Regions from separate parts of the Homo sapiens genome. Here regions 2 and 3 are each linked to region 1. Evidence: promoter capture Hi-C in 16 types of primary human blood cells and fetal thymus (Javierre and others, 2016). All regions are on one chromosome and are shown on one strand. Each heading gives the region's core, a stretch centred on a gene start or on the middle of the fragment in contact. The rest is flanking DNA. Distances are from core to core; before and after follow the strand shown.

The links. Contacts are between HindIII fragments. The CHiCAGO score rates a contact against its expected background, and 5 or more counts as called.
Region 2: a contact is called between a fragment that was not itself captured here and the fragment with the promoter of OR5A2 in region 1, in 1 of 17 cell types (naive B cells). The highest score is 5.9, in naive B cells.
Region 3: a fragment that was not itself captured here is called in contact with the fragment with the promoter of OR5A2 in region 1 in 2 of 17 cell types (total B cells and naive B cells); the score reaches 8.6 in total B cells.

Annotation. Positions count from the first base shown.
Region 1 is chr11:59,423,958-59,428,634 of GRCh38, reverse strand. It overlaps OR5A2 (olfactory receptor family 5 subfamily A member 2), which reads left to right and starts at 2,222. Exons shown (of 2, transcript NM_001001954.2): 1 at 2,222-2,464. The HindIII fragment of the contact is 12,260 bases long and covers 1-4,677 here.
Region 2 is chr11:58,670,635-58,675,007 of GRCh38, reverse strand. No RefSeq gene overlaps it. Among named protein-coding and RNA genes, the nearest start is that of CNTF, 50 kb to the right of the region's middle. The HindIII fragment of the contact is 2,212 bases long and covers 1,680-3,891 here.
Region 3 is chr11:58,639,806-58,644,334 of GRCh38, reverse strand. No RefSeq gene overlaps it. Among named protein-coding and RNA genes, the nearest start is that of CNTF, 19 kb to the right of the region's middle. The HindIII fragment of the contact is 4,055 bases long and covers 337-4,391 here.

The sequences.
Region 1 (4,677 bases), core at 973-3,472:
TGGTTTTATCCAGATGGATTTAATAGGATGACTTTCTTCCTCATTCTCAGATTTCTTATAGACTAGGTTAATAAATACATTCTGAGTCCTCATTCTGCATTTTTCTGTCCAATGCAGACATTGTTAATTTATAATTTGTTCTTTTTTTATTTCAATAGCTTTAGGGGTACAAGTGGTTTTTGATTACATGGATGAATTCTATTAGTGATGAATTCTGAGATTTTAGCGTACCTGTCACTCAAACAGTGCACACTATACCCAATATGTAGTCTTTTATTCCTCATCCCACTTCCACCCTTCCCCCTGAGGCCCCAAAGTCCATATCACTCTGTATGTCTCTGTGTTCTCACAGCTTTGCTCCTACTTATAAGTGAGAACATACAGTATTTGGTTTTCCATTCCTGAGTTACTTCATGTAGAATAATGGCCTCCAGCTCCATCCAAACTGGTGCAAAAGAAATTATTGCTCTTTATTCTTAAGATTCTCAATCTTACTTTGTAGATAGTCATTATCACTATAATCAGAGTTGCCATGACAGATGAAATCTATCACTACCCTATCTTATCAGCCTTTTCTTTTTCTTTTTCTTTTTTTTTTTGAGACGGAGTCTCTCTCTGTCGTCCAGGCTGGAGTGCAGTGGCGCGATCTCGGCTCACTGCAAGCTCTGCCTCCCGGGTTCATGCCATTCTCCTGCCTCAGCCTCCTGAGTAGCTGGGACTACAGGTGCCCGCCACCACGCCTGGCTAATTTTTTTTTTGTTTGTATTTTTAGTAGAGACGGGGTTTCACCGTGTTAACTAGGATAGTCTCAATTTCCTGACCTCGTGATCTGCCCGCCTCGGCCTCCCAAAGTGCTGGGATTACAGGCATGAGCCACCGCGCCCGGCCCTTATCAGCCTTTTCTAATCCTAGAAAAATGTATCCTTCATAACTGTGAGATCTACCTTTTAAATTTCCCAGATCTTAACTCAGTATCAAACTCTTTCATAGTTAGTTGGGGTTTACTCTTTCAGCATCAGAATTTCCTAGGACAGTTTATCTTCAAACTTAGATAAGAATGTTTCTTTTGAGGATGGACTTCCTTGCCTTTTCATGTTCACAGTTGATTCTTGAAGACATTTACCTCCGTTTCTGTCAACAGTCTTAGTTGCTAAATTTCTTCCCTAAATTAAGCCTGTTACCTTGTAAGTCAAGAGTCTCAGTAATTATACCCCTTTATATAGAAGACATTTCTCTCATTTAATTTTTTTTCTTTTGAGACTGAGGATTGCTGACTTAGTCTCCATGAAATAGATGAATTCATTTTTTATAAACTTTATTTCTGAAGAAAACATTTAAAAAAACAGGAAATCAATGTTTTGAAACATCAGACTTTCAGGGCTGGAGGAATTCTTGGAGAGTGAGCCCAATTCACTCAGGCTGGAGGGGTTAATTGACTTGCCCACAGTGACTCATCCAGGTAGTGGCATTGCTGGTAGTAGCACCCAAAATATTAAAAAGAGAAAAGAAGAGCCCCATCAAGCCCTTCATCCCATCCAGCCTCATTAAAAAAAATAAAGAGAAAAGAAATCTTTTCATCGTGATGCAAATAAGTCACAATAAAAAGATAGAAAGGAAAGACATATTTTTGGCCATGACCCAAGAAACAGAGTTAATGACATCATTAGTTTACATTCATTGAGTGATTTCTGTTTGTTAGGCACTGTGCTAAGCCTTTCTTATTCACAGCTTATTTAATTATCACAACTCTGTTGAGGTAGGTATTCTTGTTACACCAGTTTTACAAATGAGGGAGTTGATAAGTTTAAGACATTAAACAACATTGAACATGTTTATATTGATAAAAGGGCAGAGCCAGAATTTAAACCCAATTCTCAGAGTTGGAAACATGTGTTTCTAACCAGTATATTTCAGCACAAGGCTTGGTGTGTTTATGTGTGATTTACTTCTGATGAAATTTCTTTTAAGCAAAAGGCATCTACTAACCCAGCAGGGAGTCTTCCTGGACTCAAATCAGGGAAAGCTCAGAGAAGAATAGGTAGGGGGATGGAAAGAGGCTCCCGTGATGAGCGGTTGGCTCTTTTCGCCACCACTCCAGGGAACAATTAGTGCTCAGAAATGTTTAGCTCTAATGATTGCTGGGCTTTTTATGTTGGACCCTGGAGTGAGTGGCAGAGGGCAGCCTCTTGGGGAAAGAATGTGGCTACCTCTGCCCATTAAAATAATGAACTCCCACAGCCCATTTATTTGGAAGACTTGTTAACAAAGGAGCGGAGATTCCAGAAGCATGGTTTACTATTTACATGAGGCCAAAGCATAAGAAATTGATGGAACGAGAAACCAGCCATGGAGCAGTGGGAAATGCAGATGATCTGGTTTGCAAAAGATGTTATGGCAACAAAGCAATCAATATTTCTTCTCTTGTAGCACAAGATTGCAGGACCCTTCTGCCCAATGCAATCCAGTAAGTCCAGCTCATTCCCTCCTACCTCATCCATTCAGCAGCAAATCACAACTATGCATTTACAGCCTATTCTACCTTTTATTTGTAAAATGGGGCGAGAAACGCTGCCACTTCTTGAGTCTATTAGGAGAATTAAATGGGTTTATAAAAATCAAGTCTTTCAAACAGTACCTCGCACACAATAAGTACTAAATAAGTGTTTGATTATATTATTATATTATGATCGTTATATGATTATTGTTTGTGATTAATTATATATTATGTGTTTTGTTCTTATAATAGTAACACACCAAATATAGTAAGTCATAGGCCAAACCCTTCTGGTAAACTCTGAGGATAAGTGGTGGAAAAAAATCTATTTATTCAGCAAAATATTTAGTGGGCACCTATGTCCCAGGCCCTGTTCTTTGTACTTATGATAAAACTGTCTTTGCAAAATTATAACTGAGGAAATTATGACAGTCAAAGAAATCATATCTACCTGACTCCATCTTGCTTCTAATCTTTAAGCTGTCTTTGTCCATTCTTGGGCATAAGCTGAAGTAACTTTGGGAAGGAATTCAGTTCATGGTTTGACTCTGAAACAAAATTAATAGCAGCTCTTTCCTGAAGAGACCCCCCTTTTGCCTAGGGACCAGTCTGTCTTTGCAGGACTAACAAATTAGCTGCAAGATTAGAAATTACTGTTTAGGGGTCATGCAGCCTCTGACTCCAAGAGTATAAACCTTCCCAAATTGGCCCCGGGGATAACATCACTACTGTAAAACCTAAGATCAGTGCTTGAGATATTTTGCAGACCCTGCACTAGATGGATCAGCTGACACCACCCAGACCCGTTAACTGGCTCAACCAGTTCTGCCATCCCACCCAGGAACAGAAGACAGCAAGAAAAACTCACTTCGACCCATTTGATTCCATCTCCAGCCTAACCAATCAGCATTCCCCACTTCCCAAGCCCCTACTCGCCAAATTATCTTTAAAAACTCTGATCCCTGATGCTCAGGGAGACTAATTTGAGTAATAATAAAACTCCAGTCCTCCTGCACAACCAGCTCTGCCTGAATTACTCTTTCTCCATTGCAATTCCCCTGTCTTGATAAATGAGCTCTGTCTAGGCAGTGGGCAAGGTGAACCCATTGGGTGGTTACAAGGATAGATCAGGAAACAGAATGGGCAAAACTCCCTGCCTGTCTTTGAGTAACTTACATTCTGGTAGGGAAGATTTCACCAAGATAAGAGATACCAAATTCCTCTTACTTCCTTTTTGATAGGATTAAATAGATTGATGTTTTAGTGAAGATCAATCTAGGCTCGTCTTGGTTTTGACTGCTTGACCAGTGATTTGAGGGGAGATTAGAAATTTGTAAAAAACACAAAGCTAGGAGCAGTTTTTAATATGATAAGTGACACAGAACCACAGTTACCATTGGGTGCAAACATGCATGGGCAAACAAATTCCATACAAATAATAAAATACAGCAACCTTAATTTCACCACTGAGTCTTTCTCAGGGCATTTCTGCCTCTTTATACGCATTTGTATTTCCTAATTTTTAAAAAAAATTTCCTTTTTTTTTTGAGACAGGGTCTCACTCTGTCATCCAGGCTTGAGTGCAGTGGCACAGTCATGGTCATGGCTCACTGCAGCCTAGACCTCCTGGGCTCAAGTGATCCCCCTCACCTCAGCCTTCCAAGTAGCTGGAACTACAGGCATGTGCCACCACACCCTGCTAAGTTTTGTATTATTATTATTGTTATTATTTTTTGAGACGGAGTCTCGCTCGGTCACCAGGTTGGAGTGCAGTGGCATGCGATCTCAGCTCACTGCAACCTCCGCCTCATGGGTTCAAGCGATTCTCCTGCCTCAGCCTCCCCAGTAACTGGAACTACAGGCACATGCCACCATGCCCAGCTAATTTTTGTATTTTTAGTAGAGACAGGGTTTTGCCATATTTTCCAGGCTGTTCTCAAATTCTTGAGCTCAAGCAATTGGGCTGCCTCCACCTCCCAAAGTGCTGGGAGTGAGCCACTGTTCCTGGCCTGTTTCCTCATTTTGATCTTACATCAGTGCCAGTCTGTCTTTCTTAACTGCCAGATATGTATGGGCTTACCTCTTGTCTTCATAGTCATCGTCTGTTCTGGCCTGATGACATCAAAGTTGTCCCTTGCTTATCACTGTCTTTAAATATTGAATGAACCCTCTTCTCCCTGCTG
Region 2 (4,373 bases), core at 1,536-4,035, 750 kb after region 1:
ACAGGGTTTATTGGGTGAAAAGGAAAAATGGGGAAACAGGGACTCTCAGCAAAGCGAGAGTCCTGCCAGTGGGCTTCCCACCTCATAGACTGGAATCACCGGGTTACCACCCGGAACAGGAGAAGCCAGGCTCCTCCTCACTGCAAACCAACAGGAAATTCCTCAAGGCTTCACCCGAGTGCGCACTCCTCCCAGTGCGCAGGCCAGTCGGAAGTCCTGCCGGGGAACCCTTTTTACTTGGCTGTCTCAGTAGGCTGGCAACCGGCACTCTGTCAGGGTCAGCTGGGAAATCTTCCAACTGTAGTGTTTTTTGGCAATGCTTTTCAGGTGATAGTTTCTGCGTAATTACCGGGAAAAAAAACCTATGGCAATTAATAACACCGGGATGTGTTACAGATCCCTCATCCTCCTAGCTATGAAATTTTTTGGGTTTATCTCATTTTAGCTACAGGGAGTCCATCTCGTCTTCTGTTGGGGTATATTTTAACTTAGCTAATAAGTGTTGCTTTTTATTAAAACTCAACTACTGGGAAACTGTGACCTCAGGACACTGTGGCCAGAACACTTGTGAATGAGAGAATGACAAGTGGGAGGTCCAACCTGTTCAAGGAAGAGTTCTCAAAGTGGGCACTGCAACAAAAACCAAGTCCATTCCTTAAAGGTGACTTCCTTGTTCCACAGGCATCTCTAATTGTAATAGATTTAAATGTTAAGTCTCCACCCCAAGGTGAACGTGGGACACGTGTATCATGAATGTGTGCTTATCATGCATACATGCAACCCTCCCTTTGCAAGGATTGCAAACACACAGAGAATGATAATGAGGTTTTTGATACTGAATTACTCAAGTGGGGAGGGGAAAGTGCCTGAAAATTATAGTTTGGGGTCACTATTCCCATCTTGTGCCTACTAAGGTTTCCGGTATATAATTACTCAATATTTATTAAGTGAAGAAATGAATTAGTCAAAATGCAGTGAAAAGTAAAATTATTTTAGTTTCATGAATTTTTTAAATTTTTCTATACAATTTATATATTTTGCAGATATGACAGTTACCTAGGGAATGTGGGAACTTTCTATAATATGCATGTTATATAAAGATTTTCTGGCCAGGTGCAGTGGCTCATGGACGTAATCCCAACACTTTGGGAGGCTAAGGTGGGTGGATCACTTGAGGTCAGGAGTTTGAGACCAGCTGGCCAATGTGGTGAAACCCTGTCTCTACTAAAAAATACAAAATTTAGCTGGGCATGGTGGTGCACTCCTGTGATCCCAGGTACTCAGGAAGCTAAGGCAAGAAAATCGCTTGAACCCGGAAGGTAGAGGTTGCAGTGAGCCAAGATTGTGCCACTGCACTCCAGCCTGGGCAACAGAGCTAGACTCCATCTAAAAAAAAAAAAATCTGTAATTAAAAAGAAATTAGAAACCAAAGCTGAATGAAAATCTTGAAATTATGAAAAAGCAAAATAAAACTACAATGCAATTACCTTTTTTTTCTCTCTTTTTAGATTGGTAAAGTGTGAATACATTTGAGGGCATCTGCTATAAAGGAGAGTATGGAGAAATGGGCACTCCTCTAGGTTATTGCCAGGAATGCATGTTTGTACAGCCTTTGAGGGAAGGCAGTTTTAGAAGCCCTGTTTTCATGGGGAGAACTTTCGCTGAAGAGAAATGAAGCTTTTTAGATCAAGGACATTTCATCTGTGTCCACAGACTGCCTGGGCATTCGTTTAAATTCAAGGGCTCTCTAAAGTTGAAGAGAAGAAAAATCGTATCTTTATTTTTATTAACTTCCAACCATAATTTAGGATTTTCTTCAATTATAAATGTATGTACCAAACTACCAGAGATTTCCATTATCCCTGACTTCATCAAGATGGTAGTGAGAAAATTTCATATCTGATTATAGCTGAGAATAACTGAACTACCATTTACTCTTATAATATTGAAAGTATTTAATTTATGATTGTATAATGAACTCATTAAATATGAGACTTTGCAGCTAGATGCAGCTAGATATGATGTAATTAATTTAAGATATTCAGATAACTATATGTCAATATAATTTTGTTTCCTTCATATTCCTTGTGTTTTATTTCCCCCATTCATGACTCGTGATCCTGAGAATGGGGTAATAGGCCTCCCCAGACTGTCAAGCGGCCCACTGCACAAAAGCATTTAAAAGTTATGCTTTAGATGAAGAGGGGCTCAGTGGGCTACTGATGACCAGAGTTTAATTATACAGAGAAAGTCTAAGGAAGGAAAAATCTTAGCCATGGCGGGAGGTGAAGAGAAGAAAACCCAATGCAATCCTCCCACTAGATTTTTTTGTTTTTTAAGTAATTTGGAAGTCACAAATTTTGTTTTGAATTTAATTAGCACTGTTAGCTTAAAAATCACAAGTTTAGAAACTTAGAAAGGAGAGCTTTATTTCTTAAGGAATTTACAACCTGCAGGCAGGGAGCACAGCCTCTGGCTGAAATACCAAAAGCAAGCACTTCCAGGGAGAGAGGGATAAGACAGGAATCAATGCTGACTGGGTAGGCCGAGTATACATATTCAACAGGATACAGGGGGAGCTATAAATATTAACGAAAGTGAGTTGCATGCATACAAGGTAAGCAAACGTACATGATACATGCATCCCATGTTCACCTCGGGGTGGAGACTTAACATTTAAATCTATTACAATTAGGCCCTATTATTCAGAAGGTGAAGCAGGGACTGGAAGGTGCTAAAATGCACAGCCTCTGCAAGACCAGCCAGAACCAGCCTACGGGGTCAGTGGTGTCTTATCAGAAAAAAGCTATGGAAATCAGTCACTTGTTCAATCAAAGCTGTGGTTATGCAGGGTCAGTTTGTCGGCTTCTGGCATGAAGGAGCTACAATTGTTTCCATATTGCTTATCTTGAGGCCAGTGCTTGTTCAGCTGCTAGAGAAAAGGAAAAACCTTGTGACAGTTAGAACATAGATTTTTGTTTGTTTGGTTTTTTGTTTTTGTTTTGTTTTGTTTTGTTTTGTTTTGTTTTTAAGACGGAGTCTTACTCTGTTGCCCAGGCTGGAGTGCAGTGGCGCAATCTCGGCTCACTGCAACCTCTACGTCCCCAGTTCGAGCAATTCTCCTGCCTCAGCTTCCCAGTAGCTGGGATTACAGGCGCCCGCCACCACAACCAGCTAATTTTTGTATTTTTAGTAGAAACGGGGTTTCACTATGTTGGCCAGACTGGTGTTGAACTCCTGACCTCAGGTGATCTGCCTGCCTCGGCCTCCCAGAGTGCTGGGATTACAGGCATGAGCCACTATGCCTGGCCCATAGTTTATTCTTTAAGTGTAGGAGTGCTTGACTTCACCTTTGCCTGATATGTCCTTAGGTCCTGTTTATAATTTTGTATCTAATTGCCACAAAGAGTTTGTTTTGTCAGTCTTATGATCTCTATTTTAACATAAATGTTGATGGTTATTGTGTCTAAACCAGAAAAGGGAGCCCATAGAATGAGGTGTGCCTGACCTCTTGTCCCTGTCATGGCCAGGAACTCAAGTTTTTTTAAGGTTTCTCTGGGGTCCCCTTGCCAAGAAGGGGTCCATTCAGTTGGGTGGGGGGCTTAGCATTATATTTTTAATTCTTAGCTAATTTTTCAGCAATATGCTTATGGCTGTATTTCTCTAATTAACAAAAGAAAATAAGAGTATCTATGCACACTCCCACATGTAAAATAACAAACCCAGCAAAGTTTAGACCAATTTAATGTCAATCATTTTTTCCAATAACTGCAGTATGAGATTTTTGAACCCAGATTATTCCTGAAATTTTACTTTTACGTATCATTTTTGTCAATAATTACTTTTTGTCTTTCATTCTATTTTATCATATTTGAAACACGAAATTAAGCTTAATTCTCTATTTTATTGGTTTTAATATTTATCTCCTTAATAGTTTACCAACTCTTGATTTCTTTATTTTGATTCACTTCTCATTACACTGGAACATAACATTACTCAATTTTTCAGTTAGGGTGCACGGGTGATACACTTCCTGAATGTATACACCTGTAGGAAAGTCTTTGTGCAGACATCACACACGAACAGCAGCTTGGCTTGTAGCAATATTTTATATTGCATCCTTTTGAGGCAGGAGAATAGGGTCTGGAGGTAGGTAACCTAAGGCCGTTTCACGCTGACTTCCTAGAGCTAAATTGAAAGGAAAATCCTACCTGTCCACACCTAAGAAACAAAAGCACCAGAGGCTACTCCCTTTGCAAACCGCCACATTTTCTGCACTGCAAATTGGAAATTGAAAGTACCTCTGACTGGTTGCAAAAAGCAGAGAGGGGAAGGGGGGTGATATTACTCCCCATATCGCTGGGGGTGTCCAA
Region 3 (4,529 bases), core at 1,115-3,614, 780 kb after region 1:
AATAAGTCAAACATAGAAAGATAAATACCACATATTCTTATTCATATGTGGGAGCTAAAAAAAGTGGATCTCATGATGATAGGGAGTGGATTGGTGTTTAGCAGATGTTGGGAAGACAAGCAGGGAGGGAAAATGAAGAGAGGTTGATTAATGGGTACAAATATACAGTTTGATAGAAGAAATAAGACCCAGTGCTTGATACATCAGAGAGGTGACTATACAATAATATATTCTTTATTTCAAAATAGTGAGAAAAGAATAATTCAAATGTTTCTAGCATAAATAAATGTTTAAGGTAATGGATATCCCAATTGCACCAATTTGATCTTCAAAGCTTATTTGAATATATGAAGTTATCACACACACAAAGCATCAGTAAAAAATAAGATTAGAAAACAAAAAATAAATATAGTGTAGGTTTTGAAAGCATAAAGTGTAATAAAGAGAGGGAAAAGAGATTAATTGGACATTTGATTTGAAACCAAGGCAACAGTCAGACTGCTGGCGACCTTGAACATTAAACTCAAGAATTAGGACTTAATTTTGTCAAGGAATTCTCAAATCTAACTGTGCTACAAAATTTTCTAGGGACTGTCAAATGCCATTTCCGCAAATATCATCAATACAAACTGTTGATGAGATAGGGAAAACACCATTTCAGCAGAGATTTGGCAGTATCTCAGAAAGCAAGGTTAGAATTTATTGAGAATTTAAGTTTCATTTAAGCCACTTCCCTCCGTGGAGAGAGTGGGGAGGTCTTGATTTGAAAAGGGCAAAAATCACAACATGGAAGTTTAAGATTGGTGGGAAAAGCAAGGCAAGGCAAGAGATTCAAAGGTAAAAACTGTTGATACTTTTCATTGAAGAGTTGATGGATATTTTGGGAAATTCCTATAATGAATAATCGAGCCATTTTTCCATGTAACGGTCACTGGAATGGTAAAGTTATGCTAGTGAAGACAGTGTTATAGTAATGTCACGTTGATGTAGAAGCTCTGTAGGGCGTAGATAGTTTTAGTTCTCAGAACTCGTCTTCTAAAGTTCCATACATTGAAACCCAAAACCTCTATTTTTAACAGGCTTAATTGGGAGCCAATGCTATAAACAACGAGCCACTGCAGGTTTTTGTCTCAGAGTTTGCCATGATCCCAGCTGTCCTTCAGGAGATGGGAATACTTGTTGGAAGGTTGCAGAAATTACCTAGAGAACATATAACGATGGTATGAATTATGAGTCTCGAGGACATGGTTAATTTAGTGATGCTAGTCATGGCTTTTCTCTGTCTCTGTCTCTGTCTCTCCCTGCTAGTTCTCTGCATCTCTTTCATGAGTCTGGGTCTTCTCCACGCTAAATACTGAGAGTATATATATCCATTGTCAAGTGAGGCAGACCCATGAGAAATCCTTAAGAAAAAGTATCTCAAGAAAGACAGGAAGACTGCAGGAAGCAAGGGATTGCCAGGTGCCTAGTAGTTTCTTTAAACCTACAAGTTTATTGTTCAGGTGATCTTCTCCTGTGTATGTTGGGGTAGAGATGAGGTGCACAAGGAGAGAATAGAAGTTATTTGGAGATTTAACTCAGAATTGCCCTCAGATTGAATCGAGGATGAGAAAGGTCTCAAGACCCTATATGGGATTGAGAACTAAAATTTAAACCTTAAGCACCCACCCCAACCAATTGAACAGACTCTCTCTTGGCCAAGGAGACCTCAGAGAAACCTTAAAAATGGAGTTCCTGGCCATAAGGAGACAAGAGATCACACAAGCCTCGTTATATCCTCTCCCTTTTGTATACAGACACACCAACTGACCAGCATGAATGTTAAAATAGAGATCATATGACTGACAGAACAGACTCTTTGTGGCAGTAAGATATCCAATTATAAACAGGACCTACGCCCATGTCAGGCAAAGGTTAAGTCACGCACCCCTACACTTAAAGAATAAACTTTGTTTTAACTGCCACAAGGTTTTTCTTTCTTAAGCAGCTCAACAAGCACTGGCCTCAAGGAAAGCAATATTAAAATAACTGCAGCTCATTCACCACCATGTGCTGACTAACCGACCTCCTGTTCCACAAGCCATAACTACAGCTTTGATTAGACAAGAAAGAGATTTCAGTAACTTTCCTGGTAAAAGACCACCGACTATGGACTGGTTCTGGTCGGTTTTATAGAGGCTTTGCACTTGAGAACATTTATGTCCCTGTTTTATCTTCTGAAATATAGACAGCCTCATTGTAATAAATTTAAATGTTAAGTACCCTCTCCAATATGAACATAGATCATTTGTAGCATGCATGTTTATTCAGTATGCATGCATCAGAAACCACTTGGTGAATATTCATAGCTTCTCCTGTAACCTGTTGAATATGTATATTTAGCCAACCTATGTAGCATAAAGCTCCTGCCTCAACCCCTCCTTCTTCAAAGTACTGCCTTTCGGTCTCTGTTGAAGGTACACTTCTCAGCCTGTCAGGATGACCATTGGCAGGCTATAACCCTTTATGAGAAATAAAGTCCTGTGTCCAAATCTGCATAGATCTCATGATTTTTCTGTTGGCAAAATTCAGGATCCCTGGGCTACCCCTGACATTAAATTATAAGCCCACTAGACTAAAAGTCCCTCAGACCCCTCAGCCTATCTGTCCCTTAATTAGTATAATCATGGTTAAGTTACTTTTTGTGCCTCTCCTCCTCACATTCACAGATGTTTACAGGAAAAAAAAAAAAAAAGTCAAGGAGATTAAGTCACTTGCCCAGGGTCTGAGAGCCACTAAGCGCAGAGCCATATCTCGAGTCCAGTTCTGTTGAACTCCAATAAACATCTCCTTTCTATTTCCTTCATTTTCTATTATTGCCTCTTCTCCTTTCACAGGGCTCTGATTGTAAAAATATATAGGCAGATAACACTGCAGTTGATAACATTACACTTCTATTGAAAGAAGTTTTTCTTCCTTTGCGATATTATTTCAGATCACTTTGCATCCTCATTTATTCATTCATGGATTCCTTCCCAGCCATCCGTGGAGAGATATGTAGGGTGTGAAATGAGACTCCTACATGCAGGGCCAATATTTAGCCAGTAACCTCAGGAAGGTCATTTGCAGCCAATGTTAGTTCTGATTGGCTGGGGCTGCAACTTGCAGAGTAGTAAATATTTTGACTATTGCCCTTGACTATCTGCCAGAATAATTGTCTGCATTTGTATCCCCTATGGTGCTCAATTAGAATGCACACAGCCCAAGAGAGTGAGGCAGGGTAGGAGGCGGTCTGAGTCTGGAAATACAGGCAAGAGACACAGGGTCAGGGCCATCTCTGCTCCAATCTGTCTTTGTGTGACCTTGTGCACATCACTTCTTTTCTCTGGGAATCAGCTTCTCCATAGGCAAAAGTATATATGGCCTGGCACTATTATATTTTTGTAAAAGAAAGTAGTATGTGCCTATGTGCCTGGGTCCATGTGTGCACACATAGAAACATGTCTGGAAGGTGACACACCTCCTATTTACAGTGGTTATCTCTGGGAAGCACAGCTGGATGAAGAAGGTATTTTTTACCTTATATAACCTCTTTACACTTTTAATTTTCCATAACAAGCATGTGTTGTAATTTTTTTAAGTTAACAGCTAAAAAGTCCTGTTTGTTCCTGTTTTACAGGAAGTCACACTTCTTTTCTAAGGTCACATGAGGACTTGGCATCTGACTCTGAAGACTGTCTTGCCTGCATCGTCCTTACACTGCCTCTGAACAATTGGGGGATGTGAGTACTGGGCACCAAATGATGCCTCCTAATCTCCCAGCTCAGCAAATGCTGCCCAGGGCTGAAAACAAAACATCCTCAGAGAGTTTTCCTTGCCCTCCTCCTGTTGGTATCTTGTCCTTGTCAGCAAATGATTCACCACCATTCAGCCAAAGCATGATTATTTTCACTTGTATCTACAGCTATGAAATGCCCACAGACTGGTGCCAGGTTCTGGGAAAGAGATATAACCAAACATGCTGAATTCCCAGACTCCTTTGAATTTATAATGCCATGAAGCACTTGTTCCCAGGTCAGGAGGCTAGGGGACTGAGCAGCATGATTACTTATCCCTGTCCTGGGAAGAAACAAGAGGGAAAAAAGATTTGTTTCCCAGAAGACAGCCATCTCTCCAGCAAATAATCCAGTCCCAGGTTCCCTTATGATAAATCAATCACACTTTTTAATAAAAGAATGCAAACATAGAGATTGGAAAGAAGCATTACATTGAAAGAGCACTAGGCTTTGGATTCAGACAAACCTGGATGCAAACCCAGACCTTGAACAAGCCATTTAACCCACTTCCCTAAAAGAACACCTTATTTTGTGCCAGGCACTCTGCTGGGCATTTTATATCCAACAGCTCAAGCTTGAAGAGGTTATTATTGTTCTCATTCTGTAACAGATGAAGGAAGTGGGACTCAGGGAAGAAAGCCGTGAGAGTGGGAGGGCTCAGCTGATGAAATGACAAAACCCAGATTTCAATTCAGGTCTTGAGAAGCACCCATT